3 separate regions of the Homo sapiens genome follow, and all the other regions are linked to region 1. The links are contacts of gene promoters, found by promoter capture Hi-C in blood cells and fetal thymus (Javierre and others, 2016). All regions are on one chromosome and are shown on one strand. The core of a region is centred on a gene start or on the middle of the fragment in contact, and the rest is flanking DNA. Distances in the headings are between cores, read along the strand shown. Region 1 holds the start of CD300LB (CD300 molecule like family member b). Region 2 holds the start of GPRC5C (G protein-coupled receptor class C group 5 member C). Region 3 has its middle 19 kb from the start of CD300E.

Region 1 (3,482 bases), core at 974-3,473:
GATTTCTTTTTCTTTTTTCTTTTCTTGTTCTTTCTTTCTCTCTCTCTCTCTCTTTCCTTTTCTTTTCTTTTCTTTTTTTTGAGACCGAGTCTTGCTCTGTTGCCCAGGCTGGAGTGCAGTGGCGCGATCTCGGCTCACTGCAAGCTCTGCCTGCCGGGTTCACGCCATTCTCCTGCCTCAGCCTCCCGAGTAGCTGGGACTACAGGCGCCCGCCACCACGCCTGGCTAATTTTTTTTTGTATTTTTAGTAGAGACGGGGTTTCACTGTGTTAGCCAGGATGGTCTCGATCTCCCGACCTCATGATCTGCCCGCCTCGGCCTCCCAAAGTGCTGGGATTACAGGCATGAGCCACCGCGCCTGGCCGAGCCTGATTTCTAATCATGCAAAAAGAAGCTGCGGTTTGCCATGAAAAAATATGCTTTATGTAGAGGATTTCTATTTCTACTAGGTGGCACTGTTGGCTTAGAAATACTATGTGCTCACTAGAGACGTGGTAGTGAGTAACCTCACGGTGGGAGAAAGGGGAGAACTCTGTTCCTAGAAGATTGCAAGGGCATCTTCCTGATTTTGCCTAACAGGATTACTTTCCTAGGCTGTAAAACTCGCTACACATTTCACACAAAGAAAGTGTAAGAGACCGCAGATAGAGAAGGAAGGAGAGTTTTGTGACAAGATAGTTGAGGATTCTTTGCCAACACCCAGAATGGGCCGCCAGAGGCTGGGTCCAGTCCAGGGGCCTTTGAATCATGCCAGGGTGTGCTCTGGCCAGAAATTGTTAGTTGCCTTAGAACTTTTCCCAGCCTTGCACAATGGCGAGGTCTTCCCGTGAAAAGAAGCTGATTTAAAACATGGCCAACATTCCCAATGACCCAGGGGTGTTGGGGGGTTCTCCGTGTTCTCAGCAGCAAGCCTCACATTCGAGTCTTCAGTATGGCAGCCAACACTAAGTGTATGTACCCGGCTGACGGATGCCCATTGACTTATTTTATTTTAAAATAGAGGCTAAGAGTGCCTCGGAATGATAGAAGAGATTTTAAGCTCACTCCCATACTTACCACTCCGATGAGTGTCGTACCTTGGATTCCCGGCCAATGCAACAAAATGGTATGGCTCTGATGACTGGAGGAACACTAGGGTCCTTGGTCTCCCACTGGTTTGAATAAAACAACATGGGCACACGTGGAGTGGTTTTAAGGAGTGGAGAATTTAATAGACAAGAAAGAAGGAAGGAAGAGGCTCCCCCTGTTCTGAGACTGAGGGAGGCGGGCTCCAAGCTGAAAGAGGGAACCTCGAGTACGGTGGAAAACAGCCAGTTATATGAGGAGGCTGGAGGAGGCGGTACCTGATTTGCATAGGGCCCAGGGGATTGGTTTGACCAGGTATGTCATTCAAGTAGCCCACGAAAAAACTAGCCTTCCTACCCTAGCCTTTTAATATGCAAATACAGGCGCCATGATGTTCTACACACATGGGTGTATGTAGGGGCGGCCATGTTGCCAGGAACGTGGGGAAAAGAAGAAGAGGCGGGAGTCTCCATGTTTGGGTGGACGCAGTTTCTAATGGCCTGTATTTGCATATCAAAGCTTGCCTGCCCAGCTCTAAGAGCCAGGGCTTTTCTTCTAGACAAGAAACATTTATGGAGCTGCTTTAAAAGAAAAAAAAATCTTCCCAAGCACCCCTTTTCCTATCTACCTAAAATAATTTCTTAATAACTCCTATAACAACAACAAACATTATGAGCCCAGTTAATAGATACAATAACTGAGGCACAGAGATGTTGATTGCATTGTCCACAGTCACGCAGCTTGTAGGTGGTGCTCGTGGGGTTAGAGCCAGGTCTGTCTGACCCAACAGTCTGCATGTTTATGCACTTGGCTATAACACCTGAACAAATGCATGTTCAGGTGTGCCCAGCATGACCCATCCGACATCTGAGTTGGGTGTTCACTGTGGTATAGAACAGCTCTGAAATTGACTCCCAGAGTGTTATACCCCTTGGACCCAAGGCCTGCTAGGCCAGACGCCCCCCACCCCACCCCTTCTGCAGACGTATCTCCCCCTACCCTAAAGACCCTGCACAGTCCCCTCCCTCCTCTTTTTTACATAGTGACGATGCTTAAGCCCTGTGGCGCAGCCCTGCCAAAAAATGACACCTCTTTCGTTTAATAATTAAAAGCAGGAACTACCCACTCTATAAAAGGAAGTGAATGAGTAAGAAAGTCAAAGGCGGTCTAGATGTGCAGAAGGTGCAAGCCAGAGCTCAGGCAGAACTTCCAGAGTGCATCTGGGATCTGCATTTGCCACTGGTTGCAGATCAGGCGGACGAGGAGCCGGGAAGGCAGAGCCATGTGGCTGCCCCCTGCTCTGCTCCTTCTCAGCCTCTCAGGTGAGTGGGGCTGGGGCCTTGGGCGCTTGGTATGACAGGGGCAGGGCAGGAGGCAGAGGGCATTTGTCCTTCCACATCCAGGGAAATGAGAGGTGGCTTTGTGAAGTCATTCGACAAAGGTGCACTGGGGACTGACATCGTGTGCTTCGGGGCCTGAGGACATCAAGAAAAAAGAGGAGGAGAACTGGCCATTAAAGAAGACTCCAGGCTTGAGGCCATGGCTCACACCTATAATCCTAACACTTTGGGAGGCCAAGGTGGGAGGATTGCTTGAGTCCAGGCGTTTAAGACCAGTTTGGGCAACATGGTGAGACCTCGTCTCTATATAAAATGAACAAAAATTAGCTGGGCGTGGTGACCGTGCCTGTAGTCCCAGCTACTTGGGAGGCTGAAGCTGGAGGATCCTTTGAGCTCAGGTATTCAATTCTGCAGAGTTATGATCGCACCACAGCACTCCAGCCTGGGTGATACAGTGGGACCTTGTCTCAAAAAAAAAATAAAGTAAAAAGACTCCAGATGGCTTAGTGGGTGAGACATACACATAAACAATGAGCAATTGCAGGACACAATAAGGCATTGGTGGAGGCGTGTGCGGAGGATGAAGCAGTTCTCTCTGGTGACTAGAGAAAGACTCACGAAGCTGTGCACTTGATGTGCCTTGTAGAAGGAAGGTCAGTCTCTGGAGCAGAGCTGAGAGGAGAACACTCTAGAGAGTTGGGTGTGTGTGTGTGTGTGTGTGTGTGTGTGTGTGTGTGTGTGTTGGGGGACCTGGGCAGAGAGATGGAGGCTTAGAAAGAATGGTGGATTCATGCAGAGGGAGCTGTCAGTGTGCAGGATGTCTTGGAGGTGGCGAGTTGGATATGAGGTTGGAAACACAAAAGACAAGATTATGAAGGCCATCCACGCCAGGCTCAGGAGCTGAGACTTTCAAAGAAAAAACTTCTCAAGAACCCAGGTGGAAAGTGGGAAGGGCTAGATGATCTTCTCCATGGCAAACCTTGGTGGACACCTAGAGGGCATTAGGGGACAATCTAGAATTTTACGCAGGGTGTGCAATGTGTGTGGGCCACACAGTTTTCTGCTGGTGCCTAGGGA
Region 2 (3,609 bases), core at 426-2,925, 99 kb after region 1:
CTGACCCATGGCCAATGGCTGTCTTCAAGGGTGCTGTGACCAGGGCACTCTTCAGGGAGGTTCCCCCAGGGATACCACAGAGCACTTGCCTTCCTCCCATCCCACACACTCAAGAGCCTATAGGGAAAGACGATGGCCCGACTGACAGCCTTCCTGCCTCCACTCCTATCGGTCTCTCCCAGTCCCTGGTTAGGTCCCACTGTCTCACCCCTCTGTGCAGGGCGCTCAGGCGTTTACCCCATCGATAAGAAGGCGCACAGGAGACGCCTGTGCCTGGAAGGAGCGGCCTCAGTGTGTAGGTTGGTGGGGGGTGGGTTGGGGTTCCTCGAACCTCAGCCTAGACACCCCACCCCTATCCCCCTGCCCCTGCCCCGCACCAAGACCAGGCATTTGGGCCAAAATGCCCTGAGCTCTCTGAGACTTGGAAATCTTCAAGGGTCTGCTCTGGAATGTCACTCTGGAATGCGCCCCACCCCCCAATGCACTCCCTCCCCCAGTCCAGTTGAAGGCACAGGGGTGGGGGGCCGGCGGGGAGAGGAAGCTCCAGGAGCACAAAACCCTACTTCCAACAGTCTCCTCTCCCGGGCTTTAGGATCTTGATCGTGGAGTTTGTAAGTGATTGGGTCTTCCAGCGTGTAACACTGCGGGCCTGGGGATGGAGGTGCAAAGGACGCTGGAAAAGCCAGCCGGGAGTGGGGGTTCGGGATCTAGGGGCCAGGCTACCAGAAGGGGAGGCGCTTTGATAGTCTGAATTTCCAAACTTCCCTCAGGGGGATTCTGAACCCTCTCGTCCCTACTTGGGTCGACGGTACTGGGGTCTACACCTGCGCTCCCTGGGTGGCTGGAATGGGGAGCAAGGGAACCAGTCACTCTCTCCCATTTTTAGGGCCACAGAAACCTGCCCTCCACATCCACAGTAGCAGGCGGCAGAGAGGACGCCACCCACGAGAGAGAGTGACCGCGGACTCCCACCGAGAGGCAGGCGGTGGAGGGGCTCCTCTTGGAGACCCCGATTATGGAGTGGTTTCCCCTCCCTCCAGCCCGAGCCGCAGCGCCGGGCTCCCCCACCCCCCCAGTCCCCAGCCGGCTCGGGTTTGAAAACTTTCAGCGACCGAGCGGAGTTGGCGCGGCGTCCCCAGCCCGCAGGATGTCCAGTCCCCCCGCCTCTGCCCTCGCCCACTCCCCGCCGTCCCGACCCGACTCTTCCGGGCGGCGGAGCGGGAAGGCAGCAGCCCTTACCTGGGACTCGCCGCCGGCCCCGCTCCAGCGCAGCGTTTGGGGCCAACTCCAGCCCCAGGCGGGGGGCGGGCGGGGGTGGGAGGGACGCGGCGCGGGGCGCTGGGCCAGGCCCGGTCCTGGCTGGGATGGCGGGGCCCGGGCCGGGACGCAGGGCCTGCCTCTCCCTGGGACCGAGGCTGAGCCAGGCGCGCTGGGTTGCTCGCTCTCGCGCGGGCCTGTCCCCAGGCAGGGCTCCTTGCTTTCGGCGAGGGTGGGCTGGAGCCTGCATCACCGTTACATCACCTCCATTCAGGGCGCTAATCGGGCGCCCGCCGCGCTCCAGGTACGTGCGCTCCGTTTACACAGGAACAAAGCCTGCCCGGCCCTCCCCGCCCCGACTCACCTCCAGGCTGAGCCGACTCGTACTTTCCGGCTGGTGAGGGAGATGGGAGTTTCTGGCCCTGCCGGCGTGTGGGTTGTTGCTGTTGACTGCCACGCCCCCGCATGCGGGCGCGCGCACACTCACGCGCACTCACTTTCTGGGCTCGGCCTTCGCCGGGGCAATTGGTGTGAGGGTGCAGCCCTGCGCACCCCCCACCGCGTCTTCCAGAGAGCGCGCCTACGGACACGCGCGGGGCTACCTTGGCGCGTCTCCGTGGGGGACACCTAGCCTTTGTCACCTTCGTCCTGGCCCTCCCGTGAGACACACTTCAGGCACAGTTCGCTGGGAGCGGGCCGGAGCGAGGCGCACACTCAAGACAGAGTCCGTCTTTGTCACGCCTTCTGCGCCCCCTCCCCTCCCCAGCTTGCACACGTGGACACACCGCACACCGAGGTTCGCCTTTTGCACGCACGGTCCTTCTCTGGGACCTCCACCAGTCACCAAGCGTACGTGGGATCGTCACCAAGCGCTCCTCTCACGCGTGGGCCGAGTCCAGACCACTCTGGACCGTGGGCAAAGGTCCCCCTCGGCCCGACTACCCCGCGCCCGGGTTTCCTGTGACCGTTCCAGGTTCTGCCCAACTCGGAGCGCGCTCTCCCCTCCCGGCGTCCCCGTTCCCTGCTCCGACTTGTCCTAATTAGCCTTCACGGTTTTGTTCCCCGAGGTACAGTGTTTAGCGCGACCCCCTGGGCCTCTGCGCTCCGGGACACGTTGGCTCTGACTCCGAGTCCGTCCTTTCCAGGAGGTCAGGTTCCCACCAGCCCCACCCCCCACTCCCTGTTCCGGGGTGGATCTGTGGGTTGCCACCCTTTCCCCTCCGGCCCCAGGAATCTGCTGAAGCTGGACCGCAGAAATTGGGAAGCGAATCCAGGCTGGTACTTATCCAGCCCGATAAACAAGAGATTTTCCGGCCGCCTTCCCCCGGGGCTGCTGGCCTCGCGGGGGGTGGGGTGCGCAGTCCTGGGGGCCCGCAGCGAGGCCTAGTTAGCCCGCGCCAGAGGCCCGTAGGGGCTGAGGCGCACAGAGGAGGGAGAGGTTGTTGGGCCTGGCCAGGGCCCTGGAGACGCGGAGGGAGGGCAGGGCGCCGAGTCTCGGGGTGCCGGTTCTCATGACGCCGAATTGCCTGGGGGATCGCCAGCGGTGCGCCGGTCGGAGCCAGCTGGTGGCGGGGCGGGCGGCCCGGAGTGTTTGCTCAACCCTGAGCGCCCGCGAGGGGGAGGGGAGGCAGCTGGTCACGGGCTAGGGGGTAGCAAGGTGGAGGAGCGGGGGCTGGGAAAGGGGAGGGTATCTCCCGGGCTGCTTGTTTGCGTGCCTGCCGCGGTCTACGACAACCGGGAGTCTAAACTCTATGAATCACCCGGAGTTGCTGGAGCGATAAACCTCAGGCTGGTTCCTCCCCTCGCACACCGGCTTCTCGGACTCCTGGAGGGAATGTTTGCTTAGCGGCCGGAGCTGGCGGTGAGGCCCTGGTTCTCTAGAACCCTGTATCCCTTCCTGGCCTTGCCCTCACGGGCTGGTCTGGGGTGGCGAAGACTGAATTGTTTCAAGTCTCTTCAATATTAAGAAGAGGGGCGCAGTGCTGCTGCTGATCTGTTGCTCACTCCTGGGCTCCCTTCCGTAGCTCCACCTCCCACCCTAAGATTCAGAGGCCCCCATGCCAGGGAGGCAAACGCTTGTAGGGTCCAAGCAGTTGAGTGCCAACGCTAGAAAGGCAAACGGCGGGTCAGACCTAGGCGAGGGGCATCCGTGACTGTGGGCTGGGACTAGTTCTCGTGAAGCAGGCAACTGGTGCTGAACACAGTGTGCTGGGAGGGGCCGCTCATTAGCATATGTGAAAAGCCAGCTAAGAGCTAGAGGAAGGTGGAATGGAAATAGTCCCCGAGACTGCTTGTGACCTTAAGAAGCCAAAGATGAATTGTGGATCTGGCAGATCTGTTTCAATTTATTTT
Region 3 (3,841 bases), core at 1,298-3,797, 110 kb before region 1:
TGCTACTTCTTTGTGTCTATTTCCTTGCTGAGATTTTCTATCTTTTCATATATTTCAAGCATGTTGAGGAGATTGCCATAGCATTGTGTTTGAACACTTGCTTGTCAAGTAGTTGCTGCTTATCATCTCAGTTTCTTTCTTAAAAGAAAAAAAAAAGCAGTAGAATAAACAATGATTGCAGGTGTGAATGGAGACCACCATAAGAAGAGATAGGGAGGCACCAAAGCAGAAGGCAGAGCATGCAGCACTTGCTCTCTGTAGCATGGTCAGCCCAGAGTCTAGGAGGACTGGGCTGTATAGAGGGGAGAGCAGAGCTCAGTAGGCAGAACCATGAAGCTGCTTTTCACCACCTTCCTTCTCTCTCTTCTAGTTGCCTGGGGCAGAAGTGTTGATGGAGAAGTGGGTTAACATAGTAAGTATGTGGGGGACAGTTGAAATGGCAAAGACTTTCTGCTTATTTCTGGAGCCATGCATATGTGCTTAGTACAGGAATTGAGAAAATCATGTGTGTTATTCCAGAGATTAATTCCAACCTTTCTTACCTGCATATAGCATCAAAACCTCCTTCTTTATTTTGAAATAATTTTAGATAATTTAGTATCTTATAGTTTGTAAGAATCTTTCTTTCTTTCTTTCTTCTTTCTTTCTTTCTTTCTTCTTTCTTTCTTTCTTTCTTTCTTTCTTTCTTTCTTTCTTTCTTTCTTCTTTCTTTTTCTTTTTTTTTGGAGACAGAGTCTTGCTCTGTCACCCAGGTTGGAGTAGAGTGGCGCAATCTTGGCTCACTGCAACCTCCATCTCCTGGGTTCAAGCCTCCTGAGTAGCTGGGATTACAGGCACGCACCACCACACCTGGCTAATTTTTGGGTTTTTAGTAGAGACAGGGTTTCACCATATTGGCCAGGTTGGTCTCAAACTCCTGGTCTCAAGTGATCCACTCGCCTTGGCCTCCCAAAATGTTAGGATTACAGACATGAGCAACCACACCTGGCTGCAAGGTTGCTGAGTGGACGGACATTCACTCATTCATCTCTTCACACAGCATGCATTTACTGAGCACCCGCGGTGAGCTGGTCACTGTACTTACTGCTGGGATATGAAGATGAGTCAGACACCGCACCTGCTCTGGAGTGGGGGTTTCTATTCTTATTGGAGAGGGGAACATAGATAACCTCACTCTGGCTTCTGGTTGGGCTCAGGTTGTCAATGGAGGAAAATGACTGAGGCAAGTCTCAATCATTTTAGGAAGTTTATTTGCCAAAGTTAAGGAAACGCGCCTGGGAGACAGGTCTATACCTTTCTCTGAAGATGATTTTGGGGGCTTCAATATTTAAAAGGGAAAGGGTGGGATATTGAGAAATACACAATTTTCTTGTGAGAGGGGAGGTGGGGAAAATAGCCATTCAGGCCTTTGTCTGGCTCAGTGAATCTGCATTTTTACCTAAGATAACGTAAACAACAGGGCAGAGGAAACAGTCAGATATGCGTTTGTCTCAGGTGGGCAGAGGAATGACTTTGAGTTCTGTCCTGTGTCTCGCACCTGTGAAGATAAGCTATCAGTTTACATTGGCATGGGGAAATTTAACAGAAACGCTTTAAAGACCACAATGTGAGGGAGGTTGGTAGCCTGTCATCCTTGTCACCATCTCATTTAGGAACCAACATGGGAGGTAGGTTTGCATGACCCAGTTCCCTGCTTGACTTTTTCCTTTGGCTTAGTGAGTTTGGGGTCCCAAGATTTATTTTCTTTCCAAGGAATGGCAATGGGTGGTGCCAGCAGGAGAAAGGAAGGTGAGAGTTTCTCCTGCCCAGGTGCCACCCTGCTGGGCTGGAGTGTCCGTTTTCCTACTTTGAGGTCACAGCCCCTGTGGCATGGTCCTGTCCTACAGTTCCTGTGGGTTCTGGTTATTTCTGACACCTCTCCCTGTGTTAGAGGTGTCGTGGCCCTACTGCTGTTGCTAGTCCTGTTTTTTCTCCATCTCTTGTTGATTTCACTTAACTCTTTCCTTCTCTTTGTAAATTTCCCCTGCATTAGATTATTCTGTTATACCAACTGAGCCTGCCATTGGCCCACTCCCAGGATCCTGACAGAATCATGATCTCTCCTTCTTCTTTGTATACACAGCGCCTTTACTTAGTAGACGCTCATTAAGTGACTGTCCAATTAATAATAATGTAACATGTTAGGGGCTGTGTCAGCAATTTTTGGGTAAGATTTGCCCTCTGAACATCCAACTCCCTGTTTTGATGTCAGATAAATCTGCTGGATTAGTATATTTGAAGACACAATGATACATAAAAATGTGACTTAACTTGTCTGTTTTTGGAAGTTGTAGGCTCTTGAGAAACTGGGTGGGTGCCCTGTGATGCTAATTATTATGAGAATTAAAGCCACAAAGTTTCTGTTGTGATTAGTAGTTTTCCTGTCTCCAGCTTCTGCTTTTTCTGAACAGCTCTACGTATAAACATTGATGCAATGGGAAAACAACAAAACTGAGGTGTAGAAAAGAGAGACGCAAGGGAGTAGTAAGAAACATGAAAGCCAGTTTCAGTCCAGCTGACAGAAGCTCCCCAAATGTTGGCAGATGAGGCAGAGAGAGCAAAGAGACACAGTGACACATCTGCCCCTCCTGGACATCCTGGGTCCGGGGAGTGGGGTGGGGGAGGCTGGTGGGAGCATGAGGAACAGCAGGCCTAGTGGCTGGGGAAGGGGAGGTGGGTGGGGCTGGGGTGCACTGGGGAGAGGATGAGGGAATCAGAGGGATGACTAGAGTTTCAGGCTCCAGCCTCAGATGGGTGGGCTCTGCTGATAACAAACAGAGGCCCAAGGAAAGCGACTAAGCCAGGCCTGGTAGTCCAGAGGGCACAGAGGCAACCCAGGGTGTAGTGGGGAGCCCCTCCAGGGCCAGGCGAAGTCTTGCTCAGCATGAGGTCTGCAGCTGCAAACACAAAGTAGGACTCACACTTAGCAGGGCCTCCATATGCGGCAGCAGAATGCACAAATGGATTTGAGTTGTTCTGAACATTAGAGAAGCCCAGTGGGGAAAGGAATGCAGGGTCTGGGTCAGGTGCGGTGGCTCACGCCTGTAATCCCAGAGCTTTGGGAGGCTGAGGTGGGTGGACCACCTGAGGTCAGGAGAGGAGCGCCGTGTACCATCAAGACAGCCCTGGCAAATGCTTTTTCACAGTGGTCACAAAGAACCCCAGCAAGGAAGATGTGGCTGTGTGCTGGTGTGCAAAGAGAGATGTTTTTATGCACCCAGGGGACATGGGATGATTGCTGTTTTGTCACATGGGAGTGTCCTGTAACCCCCACCCTCCTTCCCAAAGAGCACAGACTGTGTCTGACAGCTGGTATGTGTGTGCACGTGCGCACATGTGTGCTTGCACACCTTCTGCAGGCTCCTCCTCTGTTCTAGCATCAGAGTCATATCTCTCTCATCTGTTTCTTTTTTCTTTTTCTTTTTTTTGAGTTGGAGTTTTGCTCTTGTCACCCAGGCTGGAGTGCAATGGCACGATCTTGGCTCACTGCAACTTCCTCCTCTCGGGTTCAAGGGATTCTCCTGCCTCAGCCTCCCAAGTAGCTGGGATTACAGGTACCCACCACCAATGCCCAGCTAACTTTTGTATTTTTAGTAGAGACAGGGTTTCACCATGTTGACCAGGCTGGTCTCCAACTCTTGGCCTCATGTGATCCACCCGCCTTGGCCTCCCAAAGTGCTGGGATTACAGGTGTGAGCCACCGCGCCCTGCCAGGGTGGGGGGTCCTAGCTAGGAATACATAGAAAGACTCTGGAGATTCTTTTAATAGGATATGCGAAACTCAGTGTATGTGTGTGTTTTC

The links. Contacts are between HindIII fragments. The CHiCAGO score rates a contact against its expected background, and 5 or more counts as called.
Region 2: a contact is called between the fragment with the promoter of GPRC5C here and the fragment with the promoter of CD300LB in region 1, in 4 of 17 cell types (monocytes, M2 macrophages, neutrophils and 1 more). The highest score is 5.7, in monocytes.
Region 3: a fragment that was not itself captured here is called in contact with the fragment with the promoter of CD300LB in region 1 in 1 of 17 cell types (monocytes); the score reaches 8.9 in monocytes.

The regions. Positions count from the first base shown.
Region 1 is chr17:74,530,216-74,533,697 of GRCh38, reverse strand. It overlaps CD300LB (CD300 molecule like family member b), which reads left to right and starts at 2,223. Exons shown (of 4, transcript NM_174892.4): 1 at 2,223-2,387. The coding sequence starts at 2,348. It overlaps LOC107985074 (a long non-coding RNA gene), which reads right to left. Exons shown (of 3, transcript XR_007065902.1): 2 at 1,057-1,151. The HindIII fragment of the contact is 3,995 bases long and covers 1,587-3,482 here.
Region 2 is chr17:74,430,154-74,433,762 of GRCh38, reverse strand. It overlaps GPRC5C (G protein-coupled receptor class C group 5 member C), which reads right to left and starts at 1,675. Exons shown (of 4, transcript NM_022036.4): 1 at 1,622-1,675. RefSeq lists a silencer at 2,663-2,802. The HindIII fragment of the contact is 4,765 bases long and covers 1-3,609 here.
Region 3 is chr17:74,640,449-74,644,289 of GRCh38, reverse strand. No RefSeq gene overlaps it. Among named protein-coding and RNA genes, the nearest start is that of CD300E, 19 kb to the right of the region's middle. The HindIII fragment of the contact is 7,428 bases long and covers 1-3,841 here.